Linked DNA regions of Homo sapiens: region 1 is linked to region 2. The links are contacts of gene promoters, found by promoter capture Hi-C in blood cells and fetal thymus (Javierre and others, 2016). All regions are on one chromosome and are shown on one strand. The core of a region is centred on a gene start or on the middle of the fragment in contact, and the rest is flanking DNA. Distances in the headings are between cores, read along the strand shown. Region 1 has its middle 10 kb from the start of IL1RN. Region 2 holds the start of PSD4 (pleckstrin and Sec7 domain containing 4).

Evidence for each region. The method cuts DNA at HindIII sites, captures the fragments that hold promoters and counts their contacts. A CHiCAGO score of 5 or more calls a contact.
Region 1: a fragment that was not itself captured here is called in contact with the fragment with the promoter of PSD4 in region 2 in 2 of 17 cell types (total CD8 T cells and naive B cells); the score reaches 5.6 in total CD8 T cells.

What each region holds. Positions count from the first base shown.
Region 1 is chr2:113,134,795-113,140,814 of GRCh38, forward strand. No RefSeq gene overlaps it. Among named protein-coding and RNA genes, the nearest start is that of IL1RN, 10 kb to the left of the region's middle. RefSeq lists a silencer at 673-822. The HindIII fragment of the contact is 1,584 bases long and covers 608-2,191 here.
Region 2 is chr2:113,169,828-113,175,643 of GRCh38, forward strand. It overlaps PSD4 (pleckstrin and Sec7 domain containing 4), which reads left to right and starts at 4,144. Exons shown (of 17, transcript NM_012455.3): 1 at 4,144-4,227. It overlaps LOC124907872 (a long non-coding RNA gene), which reads right to left. Exons shown (of 2, transcript XR_007087197.1): 1 at 5,443-5,816; 2 at 1,521-2,198. RefSeq lists enhancers at 2,486-2,986, 2,987-3,487, 3,717-3,786, 3,837-4,006, 4,627-4,716. The HindIII fragment of the contact is 16,060 bases long and covers 1-5,816 here.

The DNA.
Region 1 (6,020 bases), core at 150-2,649, 38 kb before region 2:
TAAACAGTCAGGAGAGTGAGGAGTGTGGTCCTTTCACCTGCCCAGGTTGTTTCTGTTAGATTCTGGGCTTGGTCTCTGGAGTCCAAGAGGCAGGCCCCAGTGAGGTCATGCACTTGCTGTCTGATTTTGGCCAAGTCACCTCCCTTTGTGGGGACTGTTCCTCATTTGTTTGAGGGGAATGTTGATTTGGATGGGGATTTTCCAAACAGAGCTCCTTGGACCCTTCCCTCTAAGGTCTCTGGAAATGGGAAACCCTGCAGAGGGGAGGATAAATGGGCCAGGATTCATCCCTTGAACCCTGTTCCCAACAGAGCCCTCTGTTTTTCTCTTCTTTACAACTTGGACCTCCCATGGGACTTTGTTTGAAAGGGAGACTTCATTGCTAAAAGCAAACTAAACTAAATAGGCTAAAAGGCAACAAACTGGAGAAAATGTTTAAGGTCTTCTCTAGATCTAAGATCCTATGACGTTGAGGAGGTCATCCAACATCTCTGAGTTTTCTCTTTCTTGTATATAAAATGGAAGTAGCTGGCAGGGCAGGGCATGTGTCGTTGATATATTTTTAATCCTGGTAAAAGGAGGAGGTTCAAGGCAGAAAACTCATCAAAGCTTAATGACAACAATAGCAGCTAACATTTGTGAGGCTCTAAGGTAAAACCCAAGGCTAAGACTCTTCATGCAAACTAGGTCAAGCAGCAAGCTACAGGTTAGAAACAGGCAAGGCAGCAAAACAGTCACATGGGTGAACTCTGGGACTCTGCAGTCACACTCTGACTCTCCTGCTTGCACTGGGTGCTCATAAGCAAGCTAGTTAACACCTCAGAGCCTTGGTTTTCCCACCACTAAATGCAAATAATAGGCAATGCTGAGTTATTGCAAAGTTACTTAATCTTTGCAATAGCCTTCTGTGGTGAGTGGCATATTCTTATTATTATTATTAGTCCTAGAAGAGTCAGTGCTCAAAGGAATCTGCTTTAGAGCCTTATTGCTCCAAGTGTGGTTCATGCATCAGCAACATCAGCATACTTCTGGAGTTAAAATGCAGATTCTCAGATCTCAGGCTTGACTTACTGACTTAGGGTCATCATCTTAACCAGATCTCCCATGCACATTAAATTTGAGAAGCACTGTTTTAAAATGCATTAGCCGGGTGCAGTAGTTCATGCTTGTAATCTCAGCACTTTGGGAGGCCGAGGCAGGTGGATCACATGAGGTCAGGAGTTCGAGATCAGCCTGACCAACATGGTGAAACCTCATCTCTATTAAAAATATAAAATTAGCTGGGCATGGTGGCGCATACCTGTAATCCTAGCTACTCAGGAGGCTGAGGCAGGAGAATCACTTGAACCTGGGAGGTGGAGGTTGCAGTGAGCCGAGATCACACCATTGCACTCCAACCTGGGCAACAAGAGCAAAACTCTGTCTCAAAATAAAGAAAGAAATAAGATAAAATAAAAAGCATAAATCGCACAATGCATAAGTTTTGGCATACGCACTAGCATAAAGGGATTCTCCTACTTATAAACCTAGCCCATCTCCTTACTCTCTATCACACTAGCCCATTGATGACACCAAAAACTCCCCTCTTAACACTTTAGCTGGGCATGGTGGTTCACGCCTGTAATCCCAGCACTTTGGGAGGCTGAGGTGGGCAGAGCACTTGAGGCCAGGAGTTCAAGACCAGCCTGACCAACATGGCAAAACCCTGTCTCTACTGAAAATGCCAAAAAATTAGCCAGGCATGGTGGTACATGCCTGTAATCCCAGCTACTTGGGAGGCTGAGGCATGAGAATCACTCAAACCTGGAAGGTGACAGTTGCGGTGAGCTGAGATCATGCCACTGCATCCCAGCCTGGGTGATAGTGAGACCCTGTCTCAAACAAACAAAAAAACAAAACACTTCCTTACTTTGGTTTAAAGTGTTCCATAAAATATTCCTAAGAGGAAAAACTTTAAATCATCATCGTGCTGCTAGAATGTCAGCTCAACCCATGCAGATATTTTTGTCTGTTTTGTTCTACAGTGTATCTCAAGTGCCAAGGCCATTGCTTGCGATATACTGGGTGCTAAGTGAATATCTGGCCAGTGAATAAATGAATTGGCCACTGATATATCAATATGGATTAATTTATTCGACAGGTCAGCAAATTTGAGAAGACTGGGGACTTGGATCAGGAATATTTTGAAGGAAGCTTAGAAGAGGGAAAAGGCCCAGAGTGAAGGATTTTTCAGATATTTGGAGGTTAAGAAAAAAGATATGACCACGAGGTGGCGGTAGCACACATAGGCTTTCGGGTTGATGCTTTAACAGGTTTACACTGGGGAAGGTCCTTTATAGCAGGAATTGGTCAAGGAGGCTATAGTGTGGAGATGGGGTCCTACTCAGAGGGGAAGGAGGGCAAGAGGACTCCTAGGAAAGAAGAGAATTGGAAAGGGGGCTTACATGGCCAGGTGAAGTCACCCAGCAGCACAGCAGGGAATCTCTGGGTCAGAGAGCTCCTATGGGCTGCAGTGGCTTGAGGCCTTTATGGCTTGGGGCTTATCCTTGGCCAGCAGATATTGGATACAGTTTCATGGAGTATACAGAGCAGGCAGGTTCTAAATGGATTACCATAGGCTTATTGGGGCTATGTTTAAAGCAAGTGGATGTGCAAACATTTGAGTTTGGCTTGGTGGGGTATTCCAGGTCTGGTCTCAGCCTGCGGTGAGGAAATTAATAATCAAGGGGCCAGCACTTTATATAGCACAAGGCAGGGGCCATGGATTAGGAAAGCCAGGCCTGGGGTTCATGCTTAAGTGAGGCTTTTGTTCAACTGGGAGGCGGTGCACAGGTGACTGGGAGGTGGAGGGGCTGAGATGGGAGAGAAAAGCACAGAGAGGGAAGACAAGCAAGCCTCAAGAGGATTGTGGCTTCTTCCGTCACTTCTGGGCCTGATCTACTACAACACTACAGAATCAAGGACAACTGTTTGAAAATTCAAGGCTGAATTCAGGTCTTTCATTGGTGAGTCAGAGTTTTCCTACAGACTCCCTGGGGGGCCCTTGGCCAAGCAACCTCTCCTCCCTAGGCCTCAGTTTTCATAAAAGGAGGGAATTGAACTAGATATGTGTCTTCATCAGGCTGACCTGCAGGAGCTTTTTACCAAAAGTGGCCTACCTCCTCCATCCAGAGGTTCTGATTCACTTGATCTGGGTGTGGGACAAGGACATCATGATGCCAGGGCTGAGGCCCTGTGGACCACATAGCTCCTAAGTCAGGGACCCTGAGGTCAAGTCCTCCCAGCTCTCCCACCTGGCCCTGGTAGTGTCTGTCAATACAATGGAGGGAGATGGTCTTTAACTTCAAAGAAAGGCCACTTACCGCATCAGCAGTACATTTTGACTACATGTTAATTTGGGTTGAAGGTAGAAGATTTTCTATTTTCTCAATCACAGGCTGGCTAAAACACATTTCAAGCTTCATTCTGGGGGGAACATAAATTGGCCTTCAACAGGGGGTGTCAAATTGGGGTAAAATTCTTGCAAATCTTGGGGAAACCAAATAAGTTTTTGTTTTCTCTTCACATAACTATGAAATCCCTAGCCACAACAGCAAATCTCAACATGCTTGATATTCAGCCCAGTTCTCTCCATAAAAGTTTCTGGAGACAATGAAACTCATCTATTGGGTTCTTAGCTTTAAACCTGAGAAAGCTTAAAAACAGGGAAGATTAGCTTTGACGTCTTGCCTCTGGGTCTCCTTCATGTGGAGCTAAAAGAGTAGTTCAGGAAATATCCACCAGGGGTCAGCATTTTGTACACACCTGACTGCTCTGGAAAGTGTTTTTGTTTTTTTTTTTTTAAATAGAAACGGGGTTTCACCATTTTGCCCAGGCTGGTGTCCAACTCCCAGACTCAAGCAATCCGCCCGCCTCAGCCTCCCAAAGTTCTAGCATTACCGTGTGAGCCACCACACCCGGCCTGGAAAGAATCTTGACAAGGCAAATAATCAGTTTGGTTCATGCTCTCAAATTAGTGAAGGTCTGGTTTTTCAAGACTCTCTAGGTGTTTCACTCTAAGGAAAAATTTATTTTCATTCACCTATCAATCAAGCTGAGGTGGGGCCTGACTCCTGACAAGTATCCAAATGTTGCCTATTGCCAATGTCTAGTCTCCAAGGGGTGACACCCGAGAAATTCTAAGTCTTCTGTGCCTGCTTTAAAGTCCACTTCCTGTCATCCTGTTATCTGTTGCAGACCTTTTACCTGTATGATTGACTGGTGTGTGGAATTAACACTTCCCTCCTCGGCCGGGGGAACACACCCACATGTTGGAACTCAGCACAGGAATCCCAACGGCGTGCCTACAAGGGAAATGCGTACTTTTGTGTGTTGGTGGGTAGTGGACAGAACTCGTAAAAGAGATAGATAAAATACCCAGGCACTCACTACAGTGGGGAATGGATCTGTTCAGGGGCCAGCTATGCCTGCATTCTTTCCCAGGGACAGTTGACACAGTCAGATGACTCAGGAAACTTGATTTGCTTGGAGTCAGAGCAGAGGAAAGATCTTAGTGACCAGGGACCTCAAGCTGCCCCACCTGAGCGCTCCACCTCCACTCCAAGGGGCTTCCTGCCAAGAGATCAGTATGTCTGTGTGTAGAGTCAAGACACATCTTCCTTAGGCCACAATGGAGTCACACTGACATCTTCGCCTTCCCTCCTTGGCAGTATTTATTATAAGTCACAGGAGTTTAGTTTTCTTTCAACTCAGGCCTGTGGTTGGAGCACAGGGAGCTAGGCTGGGGCTAGATCTTGCTAACCTAGTAGGCAATGGTAAGGATTCTAGTCTGTCCTAAAGCATAAATAGGCCTTGGACACTCTGAAATTTGTCCTTTCACCACCCCATGCTCTACTTCTAAGTGCTCTCTCTCCCCATCTGCACCCCCTAGTTCCTACAAAAATCTCCTCAAAGCGAGGCTCTTGGACAATTTGTTCCATGAAGACATCGAGCACGGTCCATACCAGCCCTCAATAACCCCCTCTTCTAGACTCCATGAGGACCTGTAGCCCAGACCCCTGATCTGCATGGCGCCTCTGGGGTCTTTCCAGAGGTGTATGTTTTAACCATCCCCTGAGCACCTTAAAGTAAAGATTCAGTGTTTTGCTGTTTGTGCTCCCTAGAGCACCTGGGCGCTTATCGGAAACTGATGAAAACTCACTGCCAACATATTCTGAAGTATATTCATTCATTTATTTAATTTATTTATTTTTTTATTTTTCCATAGGTTAATGGGGTACAGGAGGTGTTTGGTTACATGTAGTAAGCTCTTTAGTGGAGATTTGTGAGATCCTGGTGGACCCATCACCCAAGCCGTATACACTGTACCCTATTTGTAGTCTTTTATCTCTCACCCCCCACCCACCCTTCCCCCCAAGTCCCCAAAGACCATTGTATCATTCTTATGCCTTTGCATCCTCATAGCTTAGCTCCCACATATCAGTGAGAACATACAATGTTTGGTTTTCCATTCCTGAGTTACTTCACTTAGAATAATAGTCTCCAATCTCATCCAGGTCACTGCAAATGCTGTTAATTAATTCCTTTTTATGGCAGAGTAGTATTCCACCTTATAGCTATATCTATCAATATATATATATATATATCATATATCATATATAGATATCATATATATCACAGTTTCTTTATCCACTCATTGATTGATGAGCATTTGGGTTGGTTCCACGATTTTGTGATTGCAAATTGTGCTGCTATGAACATGCGTGTGCAAGTATCTTTTTCGTGTAATGACTTCTTTTCCCAGTAGTGGGATTGCTGAATCAAAGGGTAGTTCTACTTTTAGTTCTTTATGAAATATATTAGTTTAATATGCACTTCCCATTTTTTCTTCTCTCTTAGAATACTGTACCCCAGAGATACACCTGACTTATTTCTTCTTCCGCATTGAGGCCTCTGCACCCATGGCTCCTTATCAGAGAGGTCATTTTTGACCACCTTATCTAAAATAGCATTTGCCTCCT
Region 2 (5,816 bases), core at 2,894-5,393:
TCTTGTCCCCTCGAATATAATGAAAGAGCAGGTTCTATAATCATCCCCCATATGCATTCCCAGCCCTATGCCTCTCTTCTTTGCCGTGACTGCCCCAGCCAAGCCACTCTCCCCCATTGCCTGGACTCTCACAGAGCCTCCTGACTGGTCTCCTTGAACTTACGTAGCCTCTACCATCTCTTCTCCATACAGCAGACAGGTCCATCTATTCTCCATATAGCAGATGGATGATCTTAAAAGTAAATACACAAATACTCTTTGACCTGTCATTTCTCTGCTTTAAAAATGCACCCTGGGGGTCAGGCATGGTGGCTCACGCCTGTAATCTCAGCACTTTGGGAGGCCAAGGTGGGCGGATCACCTGAGGGCAGGAGTTCAAGACCCAGCCTGGCCAACATGGTGAAACCCCATCTGTACTAAAAATACAAAAACGAGCTGGGTGTGGTGGCACACATTAGTAATCCCAGCTACTCGGGAGGCTGAGGCAGTAGAATCGCTTGAACTCAGGAGGTGGAGGTTGCAGTGAACCAAGATCTCGCCATTGCACTTCAGCCTGGGAGACAGAGCAAGACTCCATCTTAAAAACACACAAACAAACAAGGCCAGGCGCTGTGGCACATGCCTGTAATCCCAGCACTTTGGGAGACCAAGGTGGGCGGACCATGGGGTCAGGAGATCGAGACTATCCTGGCTAACACGGTGAAACCCCGTCTCTACTAAAAATACAAAAAATTAGCCAGACATGGTGGCGGGCCCCTGTAGTCCCAGCTACTCTGAAGGCTGAGGCAGGAGAATCGCTTGAACTCAGGAGGTGGAGGTTGCAGTGAGCCGAGATCGCACCACTGCATTCCAGCCTGGACGACAGAGTGAGGCTCCATCTCAAAAAACAAACAAACAAAAATGCACCCTGGGCTGGATATGGTGGCTCATGCTTGTAATCCCAGCACTTTGGGAGGCCGAGGCAAGTGGATCACTTGAGGTCAGGAGTTTGAGACCAGCCTGGCCAACGTGATGAAATCCTGTCTCTACTAAAAATACAAAAATTAGCCAGATGTGGTGGCAGATACCTGTAATCCCAGCTCCTTGGGAGGCAGAGGCAAGAGAATTGCTTGAACCTGGGAGGCAGAGGTTGCAGTGAGCTGAGATCATACCACTGCACCCCAGCCTGGGTGACAGAGTGAGACTGTCTCAAAAAAAAAAATGCACCCTGTCTTGCCACTGGGGTGCCTGTGGGATCTGGCCCTGCCCCTCCTGGCCCCATCTTTTCCCACACCCCCTGGGACCCTGGGACTGCGCTGCACCACACTGGCTTGCTTTCTATTCCCTGGAAATGTGGAGACATTTCCCACCTCAGGGAAGGAATTAGAAGCCGAAAATGCCCTTCCATACTGGACCCTCCTCACCAGGACATGGTGCAGCTTCAGAGACCTTCCCGAATTCCCACGGCAGTGTGCTCACCCTTGCTGCTCTCTTATTTCTCTCTGCTTCTTCCCAGGCATTCTTCACAATTTATGATAAAGTTTGATTCATAAGTCCGATTGTTTATTTTCTTTCTCTGTCAGTAGACTGGAAGCTCCCTGAGAACAGGAGTTGTTCTGCAGTAGACAGGCCTATGCAAACCTACCCCAAAGTCTGAGGAAGTTGAGAAGTTGAAGAAAGAGGCTGAGAAAGCTAGGGGACTTTCCAACAGAAGCCATGTAGGTGTCTCAGGCGGCAATGAGATGAGATGGTGGATCCCCGCATTAGCACCCAAACCCAGGGCTCATATACCATAGGGTAGGAGTGGTTCAGATGGGATTTATAAGACAATTGAAGTGTGATATCATCAAGGTTGTTTGACCTACGAGTAGCACTTACGGACTTACAGTAAGTATCTGCTCTTACACAGGAAACAATAGATAAACTGGAAATTGTAGAGGCCCTGCCTTGGAACTGGGGTCACTCAGTTAAGTCAATGTGGCAGGTTAGCTTCCAAGATGGAGTTGCTTCAGCTTCCACAGGGGTCATGTGTTTTATTCCTGATAGGTCAGCGGCTTGTAGCATAGAGCCTGCACAGAGCAGGTGCTGACTTTGAGCCTTGGCCATGTTCCGGAGACACCCCTAGCGGCTGGGGCCCAGAGTGGAGGGTTTGCATTTAGGTCTTGGTGACTTCAGGTTTCTGACTTACCCAGCTTGATGGAGAGAGAGAGTTGTAAAACCTGAAATATATGAGGAAGAAGAGCTTGGAGAAGAGAAGGAACCAGGTTTGCCTTATAAACATTGAGTTTGAAGTGCTGGTGAGATAAGCATGTCCCCAACATTTGCCAGCCCTGGGAAGTGGAGAGTGGAGGACCCCATCTGATATGTCCAAATACATGAAAGTTAAGACTAAAGCTCACAAACTGTCATATAAAATGTGTCCTGCCGGGTGCGGTGGCTCACGCCTGTAATCTAGCACTATGGGAGGCCGAGGCGGGCGGATCACCTGAGGTTGGGAGTTCGAGACCAGCCTCGCCAACATGGAGAAACCCCGTCTCTACTAAAAATACAAAATTAGTCGGGCGTGGTGGCGCATGCCTGTAATCCCAGCTACTTGGGAGTCTGAGGCAGGAGAATCACTTGAACCTGGGAGGTGGAGGTTGTGGTGAGCCTAGATGGCATCACTGTACTCCAGCCTGGGCAACAAGAGCGAAACTTGGTCTCAAAAAAAAAAAAAGTGTCTATTCTCCTAATTCTCCTACCTCCCACTTTCATCATGGCCTGGAGCTCCAGGTTTGAAGGAGGATTCTTAGCCGCCTCTGAATGTTGCTGCCACAGCACAGCCCACCCCAGCCTTTGGCCCACGCCACAGCTCCACCTCCCTTTCTCTTCCCCACCCTGCTCTGTATCACACGTGCATGTGGGTGGGTGACCTGCCCAAAGGTTTGAGCTCTCTCTACCTGCTCCCGTCTCTGCTATCAGGACTCTTGCCAGCGCTTCACCCAGTCTCAGGCTGCATAGGGCAGCGGTGCTGTGTGCCCACATGGGGAGGAGGCCATTTGGGCCCCAGAAGTGGAGAGTCTCGGGATCTGGGGCACGCAGAGTGTGGTGGAGAAGCAGGGTGCACGGGCTCCATGTTGGTATGTTCCTGTGGACTCTGTACCCTGCAGGGAGGGGTGCGGCTGTAGGTGAGCTAGAGCCCGACCCTCTCAACTCTGGGTCAGGGTGGCTGGTCCCCACTGCTGTGTGGACATGCAAGTGAGGGAGTCTCTGGGTCAGCTGGAATCATGAAGACGAGAGTTCAGGGAGGGTGGGAGTGGTGGAGCCTCAGCAGAGAAGTTGACGGTCATTGATGTTGAGGAAGTAGATTGTGTGGAGGGAGGAGAATGGCATGGTGTTTGCGCTCCCCACCAGCCTCACTTACACTTGTGGACACTGCGGCCGGTGTCCTGAGGACGTGTGTTGGGAATTCAGCCACGGGGAATGGAGGTCCCTTGGTTCATATAGTCACAGGCTCTGTATTCTAACCCCAGCTTTGTAATTTTCCAGCTGTGCAACCCTGGGCAGTGGCTTAGCATCTCTGAGCTTGCCTCCAGATCCGGATCTGTATGATGGGGTTATTAATGCTTCATAAAGTAGGTGTGAGGAGGGATTGAGGTACTATTGGGAGAAACTTTGTAACTAAAAGGCAATTGTATCATTTGCATTATTACCAGTGACATGAGACATAGTCACACAAAAATTGAAATGTCATTTGTTTTAAAACCAGAAATTGCCCAACTTAGGGCCCTCCTGTCTCTCACTGGGTGCCCTGCAGGGGACCAAGAGCCAGAGCAAGACTGAGAACCTGGGGCAGAAGCGCAGGGAGGAAGGAGGTGGGGCCTGCTTACCAACCAGGCCTCGGCCCCTTCCCCTTTCAATCCCAGGCCCCTGCATGGCAGGGAGAGGCCAGTTCCACCATGGCAGGTTCTTTCTAGGCTGGTGTGCAGGGTGGGGGCCTCCAAGGAGCAGGGGCATGGGGAAAGGGGCTGCAGGCGCTGGGCCTAGGAAGAGAGGCTCTTATCTTGTGGGCAGGAAGTGTGAGGTGTTGAGCAGCTAGGGAACCCTGGGGAGGCGGCGGGGAGCAGGAGGGGTGTGTGTTGTGGTGAGGAGGAGCGGAAGTCGGAAGCTCCAGCCGTCACAGCCACATTCACTGGGCAAGCCGACTGTGAGCCAGGAAGTGCTCTTGGGGAGCCCAGGCCAAGCCATCCATTCTTGGGTCCTTTGGAGGTGAGCTAAGTGGGTCTGCCTAGGTTGGGGCTGGTGGAACCTGTGGGAGCAGGGAATGTGGAGAGTCACATGTGGGTCCTTGTGGCAGGGGCTGGGGCAGGTGGGCAGGGGAGAGGCGAGGGCTCTGGCAGTGCCGTGTGCACCTGCCATGAGCCTGGGCTAGGCTAGGCCCCTCCTTCCCCCTTCCTGCTCTGTGTCCCGTCCCCCTCCTCCCTCAGCCTACCCCTCCTCATCTGACCCTTCTCTGATTCCCTGCCCTGGCCCCACGGACCTCTGTTGTTTCCCTTCCCTGGCTCCCCGCAGAGCCTCTGGAGGTCTGCAATAGTGAAGGGTGAAGGAAGCTCCTTGCTAATCCTCTTGTGAGTGTCACTGCGTCCCCAGTGACTGCTCTGGCTGAGTACCCAGTGGGGGCTTTTGTGGCCAAAGGTCCCAAGTGATTCTCGACCCTAGACTCTGGAGAGAGGGAGTCTGGAAGGCCTGGGTTTGGGGTGGGGGTGGCTCTGGGTGTGGTTGCTGCAGGAGCTCAGAGTCAACTTGGCCATCAGGGGGCTCCCAGCTTCATCTTGCCTTCCAGGACCATCCTGGAGAAGCTCGAGGAGAGGTAAGGGGACCCTCCTTACTGGTTTAGCTCTGGCTTAGGCCTGTTGTCCTGATGGGCAACAGGAACCACTGAACTCTCAAAGTGTGCCTGTGTAGGAAACTAAGGCCCACTGTAGTCATTATTGTTATAGTGAAGGTAGCTGCATGGAGGGAAAGTCCCCTGACACTGCCATTCCCCCCTTATTCCAGGGCCTAAAATTCCACAGTTGAAGTCACTCCTCTGCTAGAATGCAGGGAAGGGTGGCCTGTCATTAGCTGATGATAAATACTCCTCCGTTCATTGGACCTTGGACCAGCTTTAAAAAGTGGTCCCCAAGCAGGCCTGTCTCCCAGCTGCCTAGGACTCTAGAGCATCCCGTGGCCCCCTCCTCCTACAGACAAGGAACCGCCTAGCATGGGGATCAGAACACAGGCTGCTGAGCTCTTTGTTGGGGAAGGGGGAGAGACCCACAGAAGGGGTGAGGGATGTGGGGTGAGAGGACCCAGGGAGGAGAGGCCCAGCCTGGCCCCAGCCCCCTAGGGGTCTTTGTCCTCCCCAGGCAGCAGCTGTACTGGGTCCCCTTTGTCATTCTGTCCCTACCCCCGTGATCTCTCCCCTGGATACTCTCTGCCTACCTCAGACCGCCATCCTCTGCTCCCTTCCTGAGCCTCTGCTGGCCTCACCACAGGCCTTCAGTAGCACTGTCTTCTCTCTCTCTCTCTCTCTCTGTGTGTGTGTGTGTGCGTGCAAATTTGCATGATGGCTCTTTCTGTGTGGGCAGGATGTGGGGCCTTCTCGAGTCATTTCTCTCACGGTGCTTCAGACCCCAGGTTCAGACAGAGGCCTCTGTCCTGCAGCTCCAGGCCAGGGAGTTCCACTCATGGTTCCTGCCTGCAGCAACATCTGTAATTCGGCAGCTTCTCGGGCTGCAGAGGGACAGGACAGGTCACCTCCTAAGTCCTTGGACCGGCCAGAAGCCTTCATACCTTTTCCATAGGAGGGAAAACAT